Linked DNA regions of Homo sapiens: all the other regions are linked to region 1. Evidence: promoter capture Hi-C in 16 types of primary human blood cells and fetal thymus (Javierre and others, 2016). All regions are on one chromosome and are shown on one strand. Each heading gives the region's core, a stretch centred on a gene start or on the middle of the fragment in contact. The rest is flanking DNA. Distances are from core to core; before and after follow the strand shown.

Region 1 (3,732 bases), core at 327-2,826:
AATGAGTTGTTTCAAACCATGGTTGCGTTACACATTCTTTAGTGGGGACACTGATGTGTGGGATTCTGAACTTCTCACCCTCTTAATCATAAGGGGCCTGGATTATGCCTGGAGGACTTCCATTTTCTAGCACTATCAGCAGACATACAACGGGTACATAATAAAGACTAGTTGAATTATTATAGGTTTGTTTCCATTTGCTACCTGTTTCCCTGAAAGATAAGAAAAATATAGAATTATTTAATGACAAGCAAAGGAAATGTACAAATAAGTGAATTTAGAACTTTGAAGTGATTCAGTTAAAATGTTGAAAAGAAGTAACAAAAATTTAGCTTCTGCTTATACAAGCACAAATTTGTTTTTCTGTCCAGAGAAATGCCTATGACTAAAAGCCATATTTCACGGCATCTTCTTAAAGTCGAGTAGGTCTGAAACCATAGGAAGCCAAGAAAATTAGAGAAGGACAAGGCTGGGAAGTTAGAATATAGGAGAGTTACAGCTTTAGACCTCCTGGATTCATAATCTCAGCTCTACCACTGATTAGCTGTGAGACTGTAGCCAAGTTACCCAACCTCCATTTCCTCTTCTATAATGTTGGTACCTGCCTCAAAGTCATCATCTGCGTTATTGCGCTTAGCACAATTTCTGGCACATAAGTGCTCCACACATGTTAGTTTTTATTCCAAATGATTTTTAAGATGATCTCAATTTCCTCTATAAGGCTTTTTTTTTTAATAAACATGATTTGTTGAATGAATAACTGAAGGTAAAATGTCATAACCCTGTAAGACTTTTTTATAAATATGTTCACAAATCAGAAAAAGATCCTCTCTCATGACCTGATTTTGTTTGAGATTACATGTCCACCACACGCACACAATGGGCCACTTAGTCTGGCCTCTCTGAGTGAGGAGTATCCTCCTCCTACCTACGCAAACATGAAACCTAACAGAGGATTCAGTGTTAATTTGTCTCTTAAAGACAATTCTGCATTAAGAAATGGATTACTTTGCTATAACCTCAGCATATAAAAAGTCTAAAGAATCTGTGCATTCTGAGTTTGTGTATTTTTGGTCTCAGGCTGTGATTTATCTGAAAGGCCTTGGAGAGAAAGATATAGGCCTTTACCTAGACCAAAATCAGGTTGAAACAATAAAGGTATTTTATGCTTTGTGTAAGCTGGTAAATACCATGACTTTTGGAATAACAGTCTTGCTGAAAAATTGACACACTTTTCCTTCTGGTATGTCTTTGCATAAATTGTTCCTCTTTCTGCAAGATTAACTGATACCATCTGTGAGTATTCTATCCCCACTCTCAGCTTGCATTTAAATCTGCATGTTTCCTTTCTCTGCCTCTTTTCAAAGGTGCTAGAATACAAGAGCTACCCTTAGCTAATGGCCAAACACTCCGTCTGAGTTCCCTTTCTTTTAACCCCTTGCTTCCAACTCTGCATCTAAAGGCAAAAACAATCCTCTGACTCACGGCCCTCCCCCTGCCTGTGATAGGCTGCTTGGAATAGCAACAGCCTGTGTCACCGAAAAGGGCAAAGCCTTCGGAAATAGAAACAAAGTTGGTCACAAATCACATTAGCTTTGCCCGAAGTTTTTCCCCACACTCTTCTTTAGCATGCTATTATGGGGAAAGTGACCACTCCTGGGAGCGGGGGTGGTCGGGGCGGTTTGGTGGCGGGGAAGCGGCTGTAACTTCTACGTGACCATGGTACCTGTTGAAAACACCGAGGGCCCCAGTCTGCTGAACCAGAAGGGGACAGCCGTGGAGACGGAGGGCAGCGGCAGCCGGCATCCTCCCTGGGCGAGAGGTAAAGTGAGCCTGCAGTGCTCGGGTGACCGCAGAGAAGCAAGCTGTACTCATCTCCCGAGTGTACTGTCTCTTGAGTCCCGTGTGTGTGTGTGTGTGTGTGTGTGTGTGTGTGTGTGTGTGTGTGTATGCGCGCGCGCGCATGTGGGCGCGCTGGATGAGTGGAGAGAAGGGGACAGGGTCTGGTGGGACGTGGGACAGCTCGGAGCTGTAATGTTGTGAAGATCGAAGTCTTGGTGGAACCTTATGTGCCAAGAAAATACAGGTTACACATCCACCACTGGTATGATGGGTCCCCTTGATTGTGTTTACATAATACAATGTATGGATGTTTTTCATATTGGAACGGTCCACTGGCAAAGATAGTCTCATTTGTAAACACACACAAGCACACGCTTGCTTACACTTTTTCATTTATTGTCACAAATGGACACTGTGTAACCAGTTGACATTATAACCACTGTTTTAAAAATCAGTATTTTAAACAGGCTTCATAAAATTATTAGTTATGTAATCAATGAGAACACAAACTTCCTTTTTAAATTCCCAGCACGTTTGTGATGAATTTGAGCGTTATTCAGAGCCTGAAACGCTTGCTTTGCTGGGTTCTGCCTTCTTTAAAACTGGCCTTGCAAACTGAGGTTTGTTTGCTATGATGACCTTCTGAAGGTGAAATTTGGAAAAGTTTTAATTCATTTAATGATCTTTGATAAATCAGAGGCTGGTCTTCACTTCCACATTTACAATTCCCACAAATACATTGTACGCTTTTTGCTGCCTCTTCCTGCTCATTTAGTTTGTGCTGCAAGGAATAGAAAGTAATTGTAATATGAAATGACAACAAACACAAAAAATCTTCTCTTTCCTACTACTTTCCTCAGCTGTGTATTCTTAATCAGATATTACATTCCCAAGCAGCATATAGAAATTTCATGCAAAATCCAATACACTAAATGATACAAAAGACATCTGCCTTTCTCTTGGGAATGGTCCTAATACTGACGTTTGCCTTGTGGGTTTGTCTGATCTTGGGGAATCGAACCTGTGACCCCTAACATCGAGGCATGAAGCGGCCCTCTTCAGGAGTGGAGAAGCCCTCCATCTTCCATGTCCTGATCTCTTCTCTTGCTTTCACACTTCTCGTCAAGAATGAGGCCGGGCGTGGTGGCTCATGCCTGTAATCTCAGCACTTTGGGAGGCCAAGGTGGGCAGATCACTTGAGGCCAGGAGTTCAAGACAAGCCTGGCCAACAGAGCGGAAACCCTATCTCTACTAAAAATACAGAAAAATAAAAAAATTAGCTGAGCATAGTGGCACATGCCTGTAATCTCAGCTACTCAGGAGGCTGAGGTACAAGAATCACTTGGAGGTTACAGTGAGCTGAGATCATGACACTGCACTCCAGCCTGGGTGACAGAGTGAAACTCTGTCTAACATAATAATAATAATAATAATAAAAGAATATCTGGGGTCATCTTTCAATATGGCCTGTCCTCTCCTATGCAGAAGTACCCTTTTCCCTAAGCGCTTGCTACTCATTGGCCCACAAGTTCCCTAAGAGCAGGCAAGGGAAACTTATATTTGGAGATAAAGGGAAAGAGTTGCAAAGTTCTTTTCTCCAAATTCCTGGGAACATGAGCTGCAGTCTAGACTGCAGAGCAAGCTGAGGTGGTGATGTTAACAAAAGGGCTCACTAAATACAGTCAGTGATAATGTCACAAAGAAGATGAAAAGAAACTGCCTAGGAAGAGCCTTTGTAGTAACCATTAAAAATGGACTGTTTATTTTGATATGGCTTTGAAGGTACAATGTGCTCTTAATAGCTTATATTGTACAAATTCACAATTATCCAGAAGAAAGATAATGTGTATTTACATTTGCAATAGTTGGTTACATGCACAAAATTCAACT
Region 2 (3,732 bases), core at 659-3,158, 920 kb before region 1:
CTACCATTTGATGCATCTTTGAAATAAAAGTAAGAGTTTTTAAAGTTAGTGATAGTGGTTTAGAGGTTGGCAATACATTTATTTGGGTCATTTATACTGATACACCTATATTTGAGATAACCTTGTACTTTATAATTCTTTGTAATTATTTCTATATTAATTTGATCATGTAAAATTATATTTTAAGGTACTATTTAGGTACTTTACTTACATAATTATATTCCATTTCTTCCATACACTAGAAAAGAAAAGCTTCTTTTAAAAAAATTGCTATAGTTGAAGATACTTAAATATTCAGAATTCATGTATTGATCATCAAGTAACAACAAGTTAATTGTTGTGAGCGAATGGAACTCATTCACAGAAAGCAGTATGTCCTATGAGGCAAAGGAGGGGTTGGTTACTGCATATTTTTACTCATGCAATAATAATATTTGCCAATGGAGAGGTAGAGGGATGAAGAGGTCAGAAGTGACTTTGAATAGTAATACTGTCTCCCTGACTACTGTAGTTTCTTAAAAATAAGCATGAATTGCAAGTTTTTCACTGTTGCTTTAGGAGATTCTGCCAGCATATATTGATTCAGAAATACCAGGATCAAATTTGTTTCAGAAAAATATGGCCATATTTTGTCAGTCTACTCCCTATGGGAGAAAAACTTGAAAAAAAATTTTTTAAGCAAACAAAGGTTTCCTAAGCTATTAAAATTTTACTGTTTAGGGACTAATGCCATAATACTACATAAATATATTTAAATTTTCCCTATTTTGTATGGGAAACTCTATTTCAGTAGCTTTTGGGTACAAGTAATTTTTTCCTTTGTTTTTTATTTATTTGTCAATTTTCTTTTTACTTCTTTTTACCAACTAGTGGTTTTTGATTACATGGATAAATTGTATAATGGTGAAATCTAAGATTTTAGTGCACCCATCACCCAAGTAGTGTATATTGTACCCAAGATGTAGTTTCTTATCCCTCACCCCCTTCAAGCCCTACCCGCTACTGAGTCTCCAGTGTCCCCTATACTGTTCTGTATGTCTTTGTGTACCCATAGCTTAGCTCCCACTTTTAAGTAAGCACATATGCTATTTGGTTTTTCATTCCTAAGTTACTTCTCTTAGAATAATATCCTCCAGCCCTATCCAAGTTGCTGCAAAACACACTATCTCTACCCTTGTATGGCTGAGTAGTATTCCATGGTGTACATATACGTTTTCTCTATCCACTCATTGGTTGATGGGCACTTAGGTTGGTTCCACATTCTTGCAACTGTAAATTGTGCTGTGATAAACATGCATTCAAGTATCTTTTTGATATAATGACTTATTTTCCTTTGGGTAGATACCCAGTAGTGAGACTGCTGGATCAACTGGTAGATCTACTTTTCGTTCTTTGAGAAATCTCTGTTCTGTTTTCCTCAGAGGCTATACCAATCCACATTCCTACCAGCAGTGCACAAGTGTTCCCTTCTTCATCGCATACAGGGCAACATCTATTGTTTTTTGACTTTTTAATAATGGCCATTCTGGCTGGAGTAAGGTGGTATCCCATTGTGGCTTTGATTTGTACTTCCTCGATGATTAATGATGTTGAGCATTTTTTCATATGTTTCTTGGCCATTTGTATGTCTTCTTTTGAGAAGTGTCTGCTCATGTCACTTGCCCATTTCCTGATGGAATTGTTTGCTTTTTTTTCTTGCTGATTTGAGTCTTTTGTAGATTCTGGATACTAGTCCTGTCAGATGCATAGTTTGCAAATATTTTCTTCCATTCTGTGGATTGTCTGTTTACTATGTTCAGGATTTCTTTGCTGTGCACTAGCTCTTTAGCTTAATTAGGTCTTATCTATTTATTTTTATTTCCGTTGAATCTGCTTTGGGGGTCTTAGTCATAAATTCTTACCTAGGCCAATGTCCAGAAGAACCTCTCCCAGGTTTTCCTCCAGAATTTCCATGGTTTCAGTTCCTAGATCCAAGTCCCTCTTGAGTTAACTCTTGCATGTAGTGAGAGATAGGAATCCAGTTTTCGTTCTTCCATATGTAGCTATCCAGCACCATCCATTTTCCCAGCACCATCCATTGAATAGGGTGTCCTTTCCCCAATTTATGTTTTTGCATGCCTTGTCAAAGATTAGTTGGTTGTTAAGTATTTGGCTTTGTTTCTGGGTTCTCTATTCTGTTGCATTGGTCTATGAATCTACCTTTATACTAGTACCATGCTGTTTTGGTTATTATAGCCTGTAGTATAATTTGAAGTAGGGTAGTGTGATGCCTCCAGATTTGCTCTTTTTGCTTAGGACTGCTTTGGCTAATTGGGCTCTTTTTGGGTTCCATATGAATTTTAGGATTGTTTTTTCTAATCTTGTGGAAAATGATGTTAGTATTTTGACAGGATTTGCACCAAATCTGTAGATTGGGCAATGTGGTCTCTTCCATGATATTGATTCTTCCAATTCATGAGCATGGGATGTATCTCTGTTCATTTGTCATCCATGATTTCTTTCAGCTGTGTTTTGTAGTTCTCCTTGTAAGAGATCTTTCACCTCCTTGGCTAAGTACATTCCTAGGTGGGTTGGTTGGTTGGTTTTGTAGCTATTGTAAAAGGGATTAAGTTCTTGTTCTTGATTTGATTCTCAGCTTGATCGTTGTTGGTGCTACTGATTTGTGTACATTGATTTTGTAACCTGAGACTTTACTGAATTCATTTATCAAATCTAGGTGTTGTTTGGGAGGAATCTTTAGGATTTTTTAGGTATGTAATTATATCATTGGCAAACAGAGATAGTTTGACTTACTCTTTTCCAATTTGGATGCCCTTGATTTCTTTCTCTTGCCTGATTGCTCTGGCTAGGACTTCCAGTACTGTGTTTAATAGAAGTGATGAGAGTGAACATCCTTGTCTTGTTTCAGTTCTTAGGGGGAATGCTTTCAACTTTTCCCCATTTAGTATGATGTTGGCTGTGGGTTTGTCATATGTGGCTTTTATTATTTTGAGGTATGTTTCCTCTTTGCCTAGTTTATTGAACATTTTATCATTAAGGGATCCTGGATTTTATCTAGTGCTTTTTCCGCATCTATTGAGATGATCATCTGTTTTTTTTTTGCTTTTAATTGTTTCAGTGGTGAATCACATTTATTGACTTGCATATGCTGAACCATTCCTGCATCCTTGGGAGGAAACCTCCTTGATCATGATAAAATGTCTTTTGGATATGCTGTTGGACTTGGTTTGCTAGTATTTTGTTAGGGATTTTTGCATCTGTGTTTATCAGGGGTGTTGGTCTGTAGCTTTCTTTTTTTGTTATGTCCTTTCCTGGTTTTGTTATCAGGGTGATGATACTGGCTTTATGGAATGAGTTAGAGAAGATTCTCTCTTTCTCAGTCTTTTAATAGTTTCAGTAGGATTGGTATTATTTCTTTGAATGTCTGGTAGAATTTGGCTATGGATCCATCTGGCCCTGAGCTTTTTTGTTGTTGTTGAAAATTTTTTTTTTATTACTGATTTATTCTCACTGCTTGATATGTGTCTGTTTAGGATTTCTTATTTCTTCCTGATTCAAGCTTGGAGGGTTGTATGTTTCCAGGATTTATCCGTTTCCTCTAGATTTTCTAGTGTGTGCACGGAGGTGTTTATAGTAGTCTCAAATGATCTTTTGTATATCTGTGGTGTCGTTTATAATGTCTCCATTTTCCTTTTGAATTGAGCTTATTTGAATCTTCTCTCTTACTCTATA
Region 3 (3,732 bases), core at 393-2,892, 900 kb before region 1:
AGCACCAGAAAAAGCCTGAGACTACCTTCTGTCTCCAGTCCCTGTCAGCGACTCTCCAGCGACAGGCAACGGCGCCAGCTCCAGACTCCAGCTGCTCTGGGCCTCCCAGAATCAGCCACACCATGCTTGTCAGAAGTCTCAGCAAGAATTTTGGAGAATATCTAGAGACCAATAAAGATGGAAGCAGAGAGGGCCTAAGGAGGTGCACGGCCAGCAAGTGCCCTCATGTGATCAATGAATTTTAGAATATTGGTACCTAACCTTCAACTGAATTATAACTATAAATCATAATTATAAAAGTAATATAGGCTTGCCATAAAATATCCAAGCAGTTTAAAACGGCTTCCTGTCAACCATGTAAATAGCCAAAGAAACTATGCTGTATATATTATTCACTAGTTTTATTTTTTCACTTAACAATGCATCCTTCTAATGTCTAAGTAGTATTCCCTGTTAAGAATATAACAATTATACTCTAATATTCTCCAATTGATGGACTTTAGGTTGTTTTGATTTTTAAATTATGATAAAAAAGGATGTCCTGTGACTTATGTACTTGTTCATGAGCACGTAATTCTGTAGGAGAGATTCCTAGAAGAGAAATTGACCAGACCCTGACAAATTGCCCCAAGCAGTGTTCTGTGAACCCTCCCGCCTATGGACTAGGGATGATTCTCCACATCCTCACAGAGTAGATGTTCTCAATCTTTAAAAATGCTCTCCAGTATGATTGGCAAATCAGGCCACCTCTGTATTTCACATTCCTTGCTTAACAACAAGGCTGAACATTGTTAATATATTCATTAGCCAATTGTGTTCCTTTTCCTATGGATTGCTTTTTTGTATCTTTGCTTATCTTTTCTGTTGGGGTGCTCATTTCTCTTACCAATTTGTAGAAATTCTCAGCTACATCAGGGATCTGAAGCCCTTGCTATATGTGTCACACATGTTTTTGGCTTGTCTTTATCTCCATGGCACATCTAGGAAGATGTGAGCAGCCACTGTGGCCCCGGTTTTGGGATGGAGAGACAGCTCTTCCAAGAGAGGGCAGCCAAGGTAAAGAAACACAGATGAGCCACGGAAAGAGGGCATCTGTCTTCAGTTACCTCTGCAGGGTAAGCAGTGATGCATTGAGGAAAAAGTATATGATTTGGAGATTAAAGGGCTACAGTTCATCCCCTGCTAACTATGTGACCTTGGAAAAATGGTCTAACCTCTCCAAGGCTCAGTTTCTTCTATAAAAGAGAGGAAGTAATGGTTACTTCATATAGGATTGTTGTGTGGAATAAACGAGTAAATTCATGTAAAGGACTTGCTTTGGGGCCTGGCATCCAATCAGTGTTTGAGCAATGAACAGTTTACGGTGTGAACCCAATAAAATCACATGCACAGATGCCTTCTGATGATTTAAAGGGCTATGAACACATAAGTAAGTAGCTGTTACTTTTACACACAATTATCCATGTCAGGTAATGTACTAGAAGTCTGTGAAACATTCAGCCACTCTCTTAGTTCTGAGTTTGGAGACTGGAATGCTCTCTGAGAGCGTCAGGTGCCCTCCCACATTCACTGATTGGTAAAGGGGAAGATGGGGGCTGGGAAGGGGGAGGCTCACTCAGGAGTCCAGACAGTGGTGGGGACAACCTGAGTGCTCAGTCGTAAAGAGGAAAGGCAGAATTTTTCCTTGCTATGGCTGGAACAAACGCACTTTTGATGCTGGAAAACTTCATAGATGGAAAATTTTTACCTTGTAGCTCATATATAGATTCTTACGACCCATCAACAGGGGAAGTGTATTGCAGAGTGCCAAATAGTGGAAAAGACGAGGTGAGTATATGCACTTAAAGAAGACTGAAATGTGTTTAATATGTTGGCCAATTATGGGTAACAGTTTTCTAAAAGCAGAGGGAGTTGGGGGAAGATGTAGGATTGTTAAACATGATAGAAGGAAGATTCTAGTTCTCAGAAGATGTACCTTGTAACTGGACTGTATGATACCTAGAACAAATCTCTTCCTATATGCAGAAAGTAAGTCATTTTTCTAGCCAACCTAACACAGCCCTGTGTGCAGTTTTTTTTTGCAATTCTCAAACATTTCCTAATCAGTGTCTAGTACAAAGTATTATTTGTAAGAGCTATCACTTTGTTAAATATTCCCTTTTCTCCACCACGCACTGCTTAAATTTACCACTATATCCATGGAATTAAAAAAAAAGTATAGCTTTACTAAAATAAACAAACAAGCAAAAAACTGTGGGCTTTGTTTTAGATTGTCTTCTCATAATTTGTCATGTCTTCAAAATACCTAGTAAAATAAAATCAATCATTTGAATGATGAAACTCAAAATCAAATTCCCATATATTTTTGGAGTTAGATTTAACAGCGTCTTTTTTCTTATCCAAAGTGTTTAATGGCATATGCATTACATTTTTTTGGTGATGTAGAATTAATTTTACTTGGAGAATTTTGTAAAATATTTGAGATATATTTGATTAGCTATCAATTATTGCACTGAGAATGTAAATATATCTGAAGTGGTAAATGTAGCTGATGTATATATAGTCATCTAATGCCTTATGAATTATAATTTATTCTTTTTAAGGCACAAATAACTAGATTATTTAAAATATAGTCTTCCTATAAAAATATATATTCCATGCAAAGTTTTTTTTTAAGAACATTGCTATTTTTTTTCTTTTTTGTTAATACTTCAAATCTGTCTTGCATTTAAAGTAAACCTTCAGACTTAGGGATTAATGTTTGCAAATGTTGGTTAATGCATTGGTTAAATTATAAACTGCAATTTTGTTTGCTTCAAATGACTTAACACAGCTCTGGGAAATCCAGCTTTGTGTTTTCCACTCTTCCTTGTTTGCCAAAGTGAAGTTAAAAATGACAAACATGCCAAATTCAGCTGAAATATTTCCTGCAGCTAATGGCTCATAACTTTTTAGAAAATAGAATGAGCTATGGATGCGCTAGCTAGTAGAGTAATAGATATGTTCAGTTTCTCAGCAATCCAACTTCCAAATATCCTATCTGATCCCATAAGTCATAGTTTTTTCCGGCTTGAAAAATATGGTTACCATACAAACTGCATGTCCAATTTCCAAAACATCACTCAGGAAAATGTTGCTGGTGCTGCTAACAGTGGCTCCCGTTTATTCAACTTTTGCTTTGTGCTTTGCAGTCATTAAGCCCTTTTTTAACAAAAAATTAAAAAATTGATACATAATAATTGTACATCTTTATGGGCATATGTGACATTTTGATACATGCATACAATGTGTCATGATCAAATCAGGGTAATTAGGATCTCCATCACATTAAACATTTATCATTTCTTGGTGTTGGGAACATTCCAAATCTTTTCTTCTAACTATTGTGAAATATACAATAAATTATTGTTAACTATTGTCACTCTACTAGAACTTATTCCTTTTAACCATATTTTTGTATTAATTAGCCAACCTCTATCCTCTCCTCTACCCTTCCCAGCCTCTGGTAACCATAATTGTACTCTCTACCTCCATGAGATCAACTTTTTTAAGCTTCCACATATGAGTGAGAACATGTAATATTTGTATTTTTGTGCCTTGCTTACTTCACTTAACGTAATATCCTCCAGCTCAAATCGTGTTGGTGCAAATGACAGGATTTTGTTCCTTTTTATGGCTGAATAATATTCCATTGTGTATATATACCATATTTTCTTTATCCATTCAGCTGTT
Region 4 (3,732 bases), core at 380-2,879, 860 kb before region 1:
AACTAACAATAGAGAGAATTGGGGTGAGGGTGTCCACAAGGGCTTTATTTTTTAAGCCAGTTGATGGGCACATAAGTGTTCACTATATTATTTCATAAGGCAGAATTATTTATATACCAAAAAAGGAAAGTGGATCATATTGAAGGGACAGCCAGGAACAGGCTGAGAGGAGAAGCTGAGAAAAGATGGGAGAGACACCTCCTGGCAGAGCCCAGAGGTCCCAAGCTTGAGGCTCAAGGATGGACAGCAGCTGAAGAGTAGTGCTTCTTAGACTCGGAAGTGCTCCTGAAACACCAGGGACTCTGTTAAAATACAGATTTGGATTCAGTAGTTCTGCGGTGGGACCTGAGATTGCACTTGGAGTGTCGAAGAATTAGAAGACACTGATTAGAAGACAGGTGCCTCCTCTCCTCTTCCTAGGTTTCAGGAGAAGCTGGCTACATTTGCTCCCTGCTGGAGACACTAGAGTAGAAGAACTTCCCAGGAATGCCTCTAATGGAGCTCCAGGCACAAAGCCTGAGATAGCTCAGGACCTTCCGTGCAATGCTGGGGAGGAGGAAGGGAAAGGCAGCCCCATCTTGGAGTGAGATGCACTGCCAAATTTCACCACCCAAGGCAAAGTCCTCCTCCCTGGTAGTTAATGAGGGTGCAAGATGAACTCTCCACACGTCTTAAAAAGAAGCTTCTTTTCTTCAGAAAATGGGGATTTAGTCCCCCATTCAGCAATGGGTCTTATGGGTAAACTGTTTTTCCAAATTGCAAAAAATAACTTTGTCAATTACCCATGCCAATCAACATATCATTTTTTTTTGTCCTTTTTTTTTTTTTTTGAGTCAGACTCTTGCTCTGTCACTCAGGCTGGAGTGCAGTGGCACAATCTTGGCTCACTGCAATCTCCACCTCTTGGCTTAAAGCCATTCTTGAGCCTCAGCCTCCTGGGTATCTGGGATTACGGGCAACCGCCATCACGTCTGGCTAATTATTGTATTTTTAGTAGAGACGGGGTTTCCCCATGTTGGCCAGGCTGATCTCAGACTCCTGACCTCAAATGAGCCATCTGCCTCGGTTTCCCAAAGTGTTGGGATTACAGGCATGAGCCACCGCGCCCAGTCAACAATACCGTTTTTATTAAAAAAATTACTGGCCAGGCGCAGTGGCTCATGCCTTTAATCCCAGCACTTTGGGAGGCTGAGGTGGGTGGATCACCTGAGGTCAGGAGTTTGAGACCAGCCTGGCCAACACAGTGAAACCCCATCTCTACTAAAAATACAAAAAATTAGCTGGGTGTGGTGGCATACGCCCAGCTAATTGGGAGGCCAAGGCAGGAGAATTGCGAGACTCTGTCCCCCGCAAAAAAAAAAAAAAATTACCAAGCAACCAAGGATTATTAAATTTTCGGTAAAAGAAAAATATCAAGATGTGTGAAAGAGCAACTTACTGTGGTAGAAACAGATAAAAGAAGGAGCGGAGACACTAAAAAGTTGAATGAGTCCCCTCAGAAAGATGTGAGGGGATAGCGCATTTATAAATAAGAACAGGCTTCTATGAAAAAGGAGCAAGCAAACAACATAAAAGAGGTCTTGAGAAATTAAACACTGATTCTCCAATTAAATTTTTAAAATTTATAGAATTGAGTCATTGATATGGCTGAAAACAAATTAGTAGTCTGGAAGATAAAGTTGAGAAAATAGCTCAGGATGTAGAGAATGACAGAAAAGGAAAAATATAAGAGAGTTGGTGAGATGCAGGATAGATCCAGAGAGCTATTAATATGTAACTAATTCAAAATGTAAAAACAAAGACAAAAATATGGAATCAGCCTAAATGTCCATTAACCAACAAGCGGATAAAGAAAATGTATGTATGTGTGTATATATGTATGTGTGTGTATGTATATATATTATATATGTGTATATATACATATACCATGGAATACTACTCAGCCATAAAAAGGAATGAAATAACAGCATTTGCAGCAACCTGGATGGAGTTGGAGACCATTATTCTAAGTGAAGTAACTCAGGAATGGAAAACCAAACATCATTATGTTCTCACTTACAAGTGGGAGCTAAGCTATGCTATGAGGACACAAAGGCAGAAGAATGATATAACGGACTCTGAGTTCCCTGGCGGGCAGGGTGGGCGGGGCATAGGGATGAAAGACGTTGGGTACAGTGTCCACTGCTCGGGTGATGGGCGCCCCAAAATCTCACAAATCACCACTAAAGAACGTATCCATGTAACCAAACACCACCTGTTCCCCCAAATGTATTGAAAAAAAAAAAAAAAGACAAAAAGGGGGAAAAAATCAAATAAATAGAAAAAGAAAATTTCTCTGAACCAAAGACACTCTTTTTAGATGGAAAATACCATGTTTCAAGAAATACTCTGTTGAAAATTTGAAATTCCTAGTGTAGGCTGGGTGCAGTGGCTCACACCTGTAATCCCAGCACTTTGGGAGGCCAAGGCAGGAGGATATCTTGCGGCAAGAAGTTCGAGACCAGCCTGGCCAATGTAGTGAGACCCTGTCTCAAAATATCAAAAATAAAAATAAAAATTCCTAGTGTAAAGCTTACAGAGTGAATCAACAGGATACCTACCACAAAAAAGCATATAAGATTATCATCACTATTTTCATTAGTAACATTGATGCTAAAAGACAGAGGAGCAAAACTTCAAAGTTCTCAAGGAAAATTATTTTGAACCTAAATTTATAGGCAGCCAAACTCTTATTCACGAATGAAGGCACAATAAGATATTTAATGACTCGAAAAGTTTCTCCCTATCTCGAAGGTTTCATCCTTTCTGGTATGACTTGGGGATGTAATGCAGCAAAAAGAAACAAGAATTCAAATAAATAGAAGAACTGCCTGAAAAATGAAATGAAAATTAATTTTAAGTTGTTAGATATTTAAAAAGAGGCCTAGAAAGCTGTTGGCTCAAGTTAGGACAGGGAAGACAGGACGTGGTGATTGAAGAACATCTTTAAAAAGAACATGGATTTAAAAATAAGGTTTAATAATCTGGAAGATCTTAGATATGTAAAAAAGCTAAAGGGGAACAGAATATCCCATCCCAATATATGCTACTTTGATACATTGATTGTTTTGAGCTGAGGGTAATTGAGAAAAAGCAGACACAGGAAAAGCTATTTTCCCCCTGTTTGCCTAAAAGGAGGGCATAACATTCCCTTATGATAGTTTTCTCTCTTGTACCAGGAGAGAAAGAGTAACCTTTATTTCTGGAGATGGAGATGGTGCCGAGATGTCTGCATAAACAAATCTCACTAAATAACTTTTACCTTCATTGGATTTTCCCCCAGATTTTTACCTTTCTACAATTTACTGGCCCTAAAAACCCAAACTCCCTCTTCTTTGTTAGTCATTTCTCAACAATCTTTCACCTTTGGTTAAAATGGCACTTATGGCCCCAAGACTAGCCACTTATTTGGGTTTTTACTTCTTTTCTATGGAGCTCCCATGCACATAAAATTTAAAATAAAATTCGTATGCCTTTTTCGCCTGTCAATTTGACTTTTGCCAGTTTAATTCACAAGGCCCAACTGAAGAGGGTAGAGGAAAATTTTCCTCTTCTACATAAATAAGATAAAAAACGTGTTCATCTACTTTGTGTTTGTCAAGCATGGATCAAATTCAAAACTTTACATTTGCCATGATTCTAGAACTAGCACAGAAATAATTTTTTTTTAAAAAGGAGAAAAAGATGGCTTCA
Region 5 (3,732 bases), core at 412-2,911, 840 kb before region 1:
AAAGGAGAGAGACTTAAAGCATACTTATAACAAACAAGTAAGAGGTACACTAAGCAGTAGTCATGTTTGACACAGTAAAAGATCTTTTTATTGTTGTTTTTGTTTGTATAGACATTGCACTTATCTTCAGTCGAAATTAGTCAGAATTACACGTCTCATTCCTTTGGGACCCACAGCATTAACTAGCACATCTGACACTTGAATCCAGTTGCAGCGCTGATGTGAAGGTCTGTCGTGGGGAAGGGCATGTAAACCCAGGGAGCATCTCCTATGGGTCTTGTGGAGAAGAAGCCTTTATAGTTTTGCCAGTGCCGATGTTGGAAACTTTAATCTCGGTGTATTGGAGGCTCCATTAAAGACTTATCTGGGGGGAAATGGGCATGGTGGTCCACACCTGTAGTCCCAGCTATCTGGGAGACTAAGGCACAAGTGAGATGATAACTTGAGCACAGGAGTTTGAGGCCAGCTTGGGCAATATAGTGAGACCCTATGTCAAACAAAAATTTATCTGGGGGTAATATGCTCCTCGAATGCCTCTGTGTTCTCGCATTTGAAAACTGCCCTCCTGTGAAGGATGCTCATGTCTACTCGGAACGTTATGCAGATAGGTGCTGGTCTGTCTTAAGAATGCCAGAAAGCTTCCAGAGTCCTAAACTGATTTTAAAATGGTTATCAGAGCATATTTTGCACATCACTCTTTTCAAGTGATTTTTTTTAGCAAATGTACCAAGTTGTGCAACCATCACCATAAATCTGTTTTAGCACATTTTCATCATGCCAATTCCATCCCTCATGCACATTTACTGCTAATTTCCATTATCCCCTGTCCCTAGCAACCACGAATCTACTTTCTATCTTTATAGCTTGCCTTTTGTGGATATTTCATATAAATAGAGTCCCAGCACATGTAGCCTCTTCTGCCTGGCATCTTTCACTGAGTATAATGCTTTTGAGATTCATCCACATCATGGTGCATATCCGTAGTTTGTTCCTTTATCTTGCCGAGTCATATTTCATTGTATAGAAGTACAAGTGTATTGACTCTTAAGTATGCATTGCATGTATAGCTTCCATAGTAGATACACACAAGAAGAAAACCAACTTGCTGAAATGTTAGTAGCACCAAAAAATGTATTTCCAAGACAGTCTTTCTAATGAGAATAGAACATTCATGTTATAATACTATCTAATCCATCAATAACTTGGACTTTATTTTAAAAATAAATATTCATTGAGCTCATGCTAACTGTTGTGCTAGGTGTTGGTGATGTCTGGACATGGGTAAGACATAATCATTACCCTAAACAAACTCAGATTCTTTGTTTTTTTTTTTTTTTGAGATGAGTCTCACTCTGTCACCCAGGCTGGAGTGCAGTGGCACGATCTCGGCTCACTGCAACATCTGCCTCCCGGGTTCAAGTGATTCTTCTGCCTCAGCCTCCCGTGTGCCACCACGCCCGGCTAATTTTTTGTATTTTTAGTAGAGACAGGGTTTCACCATGTTAGCCAGGATGGTATTGATCTCCTGACCTCGTGATCTGCCTGCCTCGGCCTCCCAGAGTGTTGGGATTACAGGCATGAGCCACTGCACCCAGCCAACAAACTCAGATTCTTATGGTAGACAGACACAGAGCATAAGGTGAAGAAATGAAGTGTTGGGTGTTGGTAGAATATCAAAGTAGCTGATTTGGTTTGGCTGTGTCCCCACCCATATCTCACCTTGAATTTTGATAATACCCACGTGCCATAGGAGGGACCTGGTGGGAGGTAACTGAATCATGGGGATGGGTCTTTCCCGTGCTGTTCTCATGATAGTGAATACATCTCAGGAGATGTGATGGTTTTATAAAGGGCAGTTCCCCTGCACACGTGCTCTTTGCCTCCCACCATGTAAGACGTCCCTTTGCTCTTCATTTGTCTTCTGCCATGATTGTGAAGCCTTCTCAGCCATGTGGAACCATCAATCCATTAAACCTCTTTCCTTTATAAATTACGCAGTCTCAGGTAGGTCTTTATTAGCAGCATGAGAACGGACTAATACAGTAGCCAGGCCTAAAATTCTAAATTGGAACACTTGTGCACATTTTAAGGTTTTTAAAAGTTCCTATTCTAGGTTCATGGTGGATAATTAATAACCTCAACGGGGAGGAAAACAAGTCATTTCCAGGGTCTTCTATTAAATTCTGTATTAGTGACATGATTTTGATGACCTTGAATGAAGTCACACAAAGACTTGCTTATCTAAATATACATTGTGGAAGGCATGTGTGCTAGGTACTTGTCTTTATTGACCCAATATTCATATCCCTCCTTTCCTGCTAACAGAACTTAAATTTATTTGGGTAGTAGCAGAAGTCCTTTTGTTTCAGGGAGGAAGGGCCCACCCTTAGTCCCTGGGAATTAATAGTAATTCTAAGCCAGTTATTCCTCTTGGCCAGTCATTAGTCTAAGGATGACTGCGTGATCCAGTTCTGGCTGATAAGATGCAAAAGAAAGTATGGCTAGTGACACTTCTGGGAAAGTTCTTACTTTTCTGATACAAAGGGGACAGACCCAGCTGGCATGGAATTTGTCCCTTTGCCCTTTCCCTTGGTTCTTGGCCGAAATGTGCGTGTGATGTCTGTAGGTGAGATAGGCATCTTGAGACCAAGGGACAAAAAGCGTGAAGATGAAAGTAAGCTTGCTAAGGATAATGAATCTGAAAGATGAAAGGAAATGTGGTCCCTAATGGTGTCACTGGCAACATGAGCCCAGGGCTGCCTACTCTCAGATTTATTGTTATGTGAGAAAAATTAAACTCGTGTGTTTAGGTTTTTGTGCTCAAATTTTTCTGTTACTTGCTGCCAAAAGCATCCCTAACTGATATAGTATGCCTGTCAGATTTTCAAATGTTTGGAAACTGAGAAGAAGTGTAAACATATGTGCTGACAGAATGTAAATTTAAAAAGTATATCCTTTGATTTATTTATCCACCAAATATTAAATACTTTCCAGGTACAAGATCTAGTGCTAGGTCTGGGCTGAAATGCTGTCAAAAAAATAAAACACTAAAGGGAGTAACAAAAACATGCCACATTTAGGTTCAGCACAGTTAAGTGCACAAGTGTAGGACTGAAGTAACCTTGTTTACTTGAGTATCTAATAAAAAGATCCTCCCCCTTGTCCTGCACAGACACAGACTGAGCACACTTACAGGCTCTGCTCTGTGAACCAAAGCAGGGAGATGTTATCATCCTCTTCAATACTCTGATTTTTAGGACACTTTTAAGGCAATGTGCTCAGTAATGCTGGCCCCTGTATGTAGAAGGACATTGACAAAATGGACAATCTGGAATGGCTGTGGTGATCTAACCTTTGGAGGAAAAACGGGTGTTGAGATATGTGTAATCATATGTGATATGTGTAATCATATCTGATACCTACCTCTGGGGGTTTGCAAGTCTTTGGATAGTCCACTTAGCACAGGAGTGACCTCACATTATTGAACCCAACGCTGAAGTTGGAAGGCTATTTAAAAAGTTGTTGCACAAATTCTTACTGTCCTGAGAGGAAGATGATTTCTAAGTCTCCCTCCTGCCCAAACCTTTATAATGAAAGAAAATTAAATAATTAGTCAATCAATTAATTCATTATTTATGCATTATTTGCAATGTGAAACAATGTCTAACCAATTCTTTTCCCAATTCTTTTCTCAATTCTTATTCTTCTAGATGTCTCGGGGGTCTTTAAAAC
Region 6 (3,732 bases), core at 629-3,128, 770 kb before region 1:
GCGAGATTCCATCTCAAAAAAGAAAGAAAGAAAGAAAGAAATGCTGGCCTCTAAATAACCAAGTTAGAGTTGGTTGCCATGATTGTCTTTTAATGACATCTACGTACTATCCTTTTCTGACATCAAAACCGACCCTGGCCGGGCGCAGTGGCTCACGCCTAAAATCCCAGCACTTTGGGAGGCCGAGGCGTGTGGATCACGAGGTCAGGAGATTGAGACCTTCCTGGCTAACATGGTGAAACCCCATCTCTGCTTAAAAAAAAAAAAAAAAAAAAATTAGCCAGGTGTGGTGGCGGGTGCCTGTAGTCCCAGCTACTCGGGAGGTTGAGGCCAGGGAATGGCATGAACCTGGGAGGCAGAGCTTGCAGTGAGCGGAGAGCTCACCACTGCACTCCAGCCTGGGTGACAGAGCAAGACTCCGTCTCAAAAAACAAAACAAAGCAAAACAAAAAAACTGACCCAATGGTCCCATAGACAGTTCTTTTTGATAAACATAGAAATTGACCTTTCTAGTCTTAAAGCTTGAAACTAATATTCGTTTTATCTGAGTTCCTTTCTTATGAAAGGACTTTCATACCTCTCAAAAAAAGTATCAAAGGACTGAAATTCACGAAGTCACCAGATCCAGACAATGAGATGCCTGACCCCTCATTCGTCATGATTTCTTCTTTGCCCCTCCCTAGTTCCTGTTTTCTTACACATTGTTACATTTTTCTCCCTGCTATATAAACCCACGTTTCAGTTGATAAGGGAAATGGATTTTTTTTTTTTTTTTTGAGATGGAGTCTTGTTCTGTCACCCAGGCTGGAGTGCAGTGGTGCAATCTCAGCTCACTGCAACTTCCGCCTCCCAGGTTCAAGCTATTCTCCTGCCTCAGCCTTCCAAGTAGCTGGGACTACAGGTGTGTGCTACCATGCCCAGCTAATTTTTGTATTTTTAGTAGAGATGGGGTTTACCATGTTGGCCAGGCTGGTCTCAAGCTCCTGACCTCAGGCAATCTGCCTGCCTCAGCCTCTTAAAGTGTTGAGATTACAGGCATGAGCCACCATGCCTGGCCAGGGAAATGGATTTGAGACTGAGCCCCCATCTTCTAGGATGTAGCACCCAATTAAAGCCTTCTTCCTTGGCATGTCATCATCTCAGTGATTGGTTTTCTGTGCAGCCAGCAGCAGGACCTAGACTGAACCCTTGGTGTTTCGGTAACAACATCAGTGTGATTGATGTCCTCATGAAACCAATGGAATCAGAATTTCCTAGAAATCTTTACAAAGCTTTTGCTTCTCTCATGTTGTATTCTTCAGTCCATGGTGGTTTACATTTGCCTCTTTTATCATCTCTTTTAGTCTGAAAATTTTCTGTTTCTCGTATTAGTGCTTTCAAATAGATTGCCTATTGGATTATTTTCTCATTTATATAGCAGACTCGGATTGGATGGGGGGATATGATTAAAAGACAATTACATATATTTAATACTTTTAGAGGATTTATACAGGAACAAAAATCAGAGGAAGACCTACAAGATTTTCTAATTTAAAAATTTTTAATTATTCTAATAAGCATTTCATGCTCTTAGCTCTTTACTATGAAGAAATGGACTGGGAGCCAACAGATCTGAGTTCCTGTCCCTGCATTGACAAATAATTCATTTTCAGAGCCTGTTTCACAAGCCATGAAATAAGGGAACCATTTTATGTAGAAAGTAGCTTCAAAACAGCTGGGATGAATAAAGTACTTTATTACCTGGAGACTTCAAACACAGTTTTTTTGCTGTGGCCCATAATTTGATAGTGTCTAATTGCATCTAAAATCCAAGTTTTCGGCCAGGCGTGGTGGCTCACACCTGTAATCCCAGCAATTTGGGAGGCCAAGGTGGGCGGATCATGAGGTCAGGAGTTTGAGACCAGTCTGACCAACATGGTGAAACTCCATCTCTACTAAAAATACAAAAATTAGCTGGGCGTGGTAGTGTGTGCCTGTAATCCCAGCTACTCAGGAGGCTGAGGCAGGAAAATCGCTTGAAACTGGGAGGCAGAGGTGGCAGTGAGCTGAGATCGCACCATTGCACTCCTGCCTGGGTGACAGAGTGGGACTCCGTCTCAAAAAAAAAAAAAAAAGTTTTCTGCGATGGCATCTAAGCATCTTTCTGTTCCAGTCCTGAACTGCCTTCCACATCACTTCCCACCCATCTTCTTGGGCCCTGATCCTTTATCACATGCTGTACTCTCAGGACTCCTGACCTTTGCTTCTGCTGTTCCCCCTGCCTAGCATACCACACCCATTTCTTTAGAAATCAAAGGCCCATCTATCTCCTTCAAAACTCAGATCTAGTGTTTCCTCTTGCATGCAGCTTTTTCTAACCTCAGCAGAATGAATTTCCCCCTTCCCTTTGTGCTTTCTCATAATGGAACATTTATCATATGGGATAATTACTTGTTACATGTTTTGTTTTCTATTTAATACCTCCTAAGTTTTGACTGAAGCTTGTCCACATGCTTGGTCACAGAACTGTCCTGGGAAATTCCCTGATGAATTATTTCAAAAGCAACCAAAGTGTCCTAACTTGATGGTAGCAGGGGAAAAACAAGGATCATCTCAGTGTGGCTGAATGAAAAGCAGTATCTATCTGGATCTTCATAAATGATGGAATTGATTTGCCACACCATTTGGTAAAGGCCTGAAGCCGTGGTTAACAGGGTTATTTTGATGAAAACTTGAAACAAAAAACACTCAAAGGACAACAGCCCCGGTGGCCCTTGAGGCAAATGATTGATTCCTGGGGCTATGTTGGAAAGTTTGGCAGAGAAGAGACTGAAATATGCTGTGGGGTGAGGAGGTTGTAGGAGGGGGCCCCACTGGGAGATTCTTGGGCTTTGGAAACATGGGGGAGAGAAAATGGTCCAGAAATGTTGTCTTGGGAAATTAGGGACAGCAGAGCTAGGGATAACAGCATGTCTAGAATACGCTGATAAATTTCCACTAGATGACGCTGTTTCCTCATTTGGCGAATGAGATTTATTACCCTACCCCTACCGGCCAACCTAAGCCCCGGACCACGGACCACGGACCACAGAGGCGTGAGAGCCTGGAGGCCTGGGCTCTAGTTCCAAATCTGCCCCTCCCTGGAATGAGGCCTGGAAGGAACAGACCTCCAAGATTCCCTGAGATTCCTCATTTGTAAAACAAAGAAATCCTCAACCAGGTGCTTTCTAAAACTTCTCCAATTACTTTTTAAAATACGTTTTATTTTTCCATTTTAATGAAAACTGTGGGGATATGTATTGCCTTTTATGTAAATATATACTTGTCATACAGAAATATCAATTTTTATTTAACCAAATCTCATTTAGATAATTAGACTCTGTAAAGCATACGGGGCAAGAATCAAATGAATAACAGTATACTTGTACACATTGGTATGCCTCCTGGGCCTAAACATTTCCCATTTATGTATGCAGTGAATTGTAGAGCTGGAAAGAATCTTAGAGGTTATACAAATAGTTCAGTCTTTTACGTATCTAATATCTAAACATAAGCTTCTCCAGGGGAAAAATTCTATTATTTTTTTTTCCATGATGAATTTTTTTTAGGGTCTGTAGTTGTAGAACTATGTCCTTGTGCTTGAGGCCAGCTCTATACTGAGTTCTCTCATGCAGGTTATCATTTGACGCACGACTTCCGAAGCTCGCTTAAGTCATAACTGAATCATTGAATGACATCAAACACCTAGCTGTT

The links. Contacts are between HindIII fragments. The CHiCAGO score rates a contact against its expected background, and 5 or more counts as called.
Region 2: a contact is called between a fragment that was not itself captured here and the fragment with the promoter of SLC2A12 in region 1, in 2 of 17 cell types (neutrophils and M0 macrophages). The highest score is 7.3, in neutrophils.
Region 3: the fragment with the promoter of ALDH8A1 here is called in contact with the fragment with the promoter of SLC2A12 in region 1 in 16 of 17 cell types (M2 macrophages, M0 macrophages, total CD4 T cells and 13 more); the score reaches 22.8 in M2 macrophages.
Region 4: a contact is called between a fragment that was not itself captured here and the fragment with the promoter of SLC2A12 in region 1, in 1 of 17 cell types (M2 macrophages). The highest score is 5.1, in M2 macrophages.
Region 5: a fragment that was not itself captured here is called in contact with the fragment with the promoter of SLC2A12 in region 1 in 1 of 17 cell types (M0 macrophages); the score reaches 6.5 in M0 macrophages.
Region 6: a fragment that was not itself captured here is called in contact with the fragment with the promoter of SLC2A12 in region 1 in 1 of 17 cell types (activated CD4 T cells); the score reaches 5.1 in activated CD4 T cells.

What each region holds. Positions count from the first base shown.
Region 1 is chr6:134,050,468-134,054,199 of GRCh38, reverse strand. SLC2A12 (solute carrier family 2 member 12) reads left to right here and starts at 1,576. Exons shown (of 5, transcript NM_145176.3): 1 at 1,576-1,822. The coding sequence starts at 1,720. The HindIII fragment of the contact is 5,616 bases long and covers 1-3,732 here.
Region 2 is chr6:134,974,020-134,977,751 of GRCh38, reverse strand. All of the region lies in intron 15 of HBS1L (HBS1 like translational GTPase), which reads left to right. Among named protein-coding and RNA genes, the nearest start is that of MIR3662, 3.5 kb to the left of the region's middle. The HindIII fragment of the contact is 3,307 bases long and covers 255-3,561 here.
Region 3 is chr6:134,948,011-134,951,742 of GRCh38, reverse strand. ALDH8A1 (aldehyde dehydrogenase 8 family member A1) reads left to right here and starts at 1,642. Exons shown (of 7, transcript NM_022568.4): 1 at 1,642-1,827. The coding sequence starts at 1,690. The HindIII fragment of the contact is 9,755 bases long and covers 1-3,554 here.
Region 4 is chr6:134,912,131-134,915,862 of GRCh38, reverse strand. No RefSeq gene overlaps it. Among named protein-coding and RNA genes, the nearest start is that of ALDH8A1, 36 kb to the left of the region's middle. The HindIII fragment of the contact is 1,889 bases long and covers 685-2,573 here.
Region 5 is chr6:134,885,560-134,889,291 of GRCh38, reverse strand. No RefSeq gene overlaps it. Among named protein-coding and RNA genes, the nearest start is that of ALDH8A1, 63 kb to the left of the region's middle. The HindIII fragment of the contact is 2,041 bases long and covers 641-2,681 here.
Region 6 is chr6:134,822,368-134,826,099 of GRCh38, reverse strand. All of the region lies in intron 2 of LOC101928277 (a long non-coding RNA gene), which reads left to right. Among named protein-coding and RNA genes, the nearest start is that of ALDH8A1, 130 kb to the left of the region's middle. The HindIII fragment of the contact is 1,209 bases long and covers 1,274-2,482 here.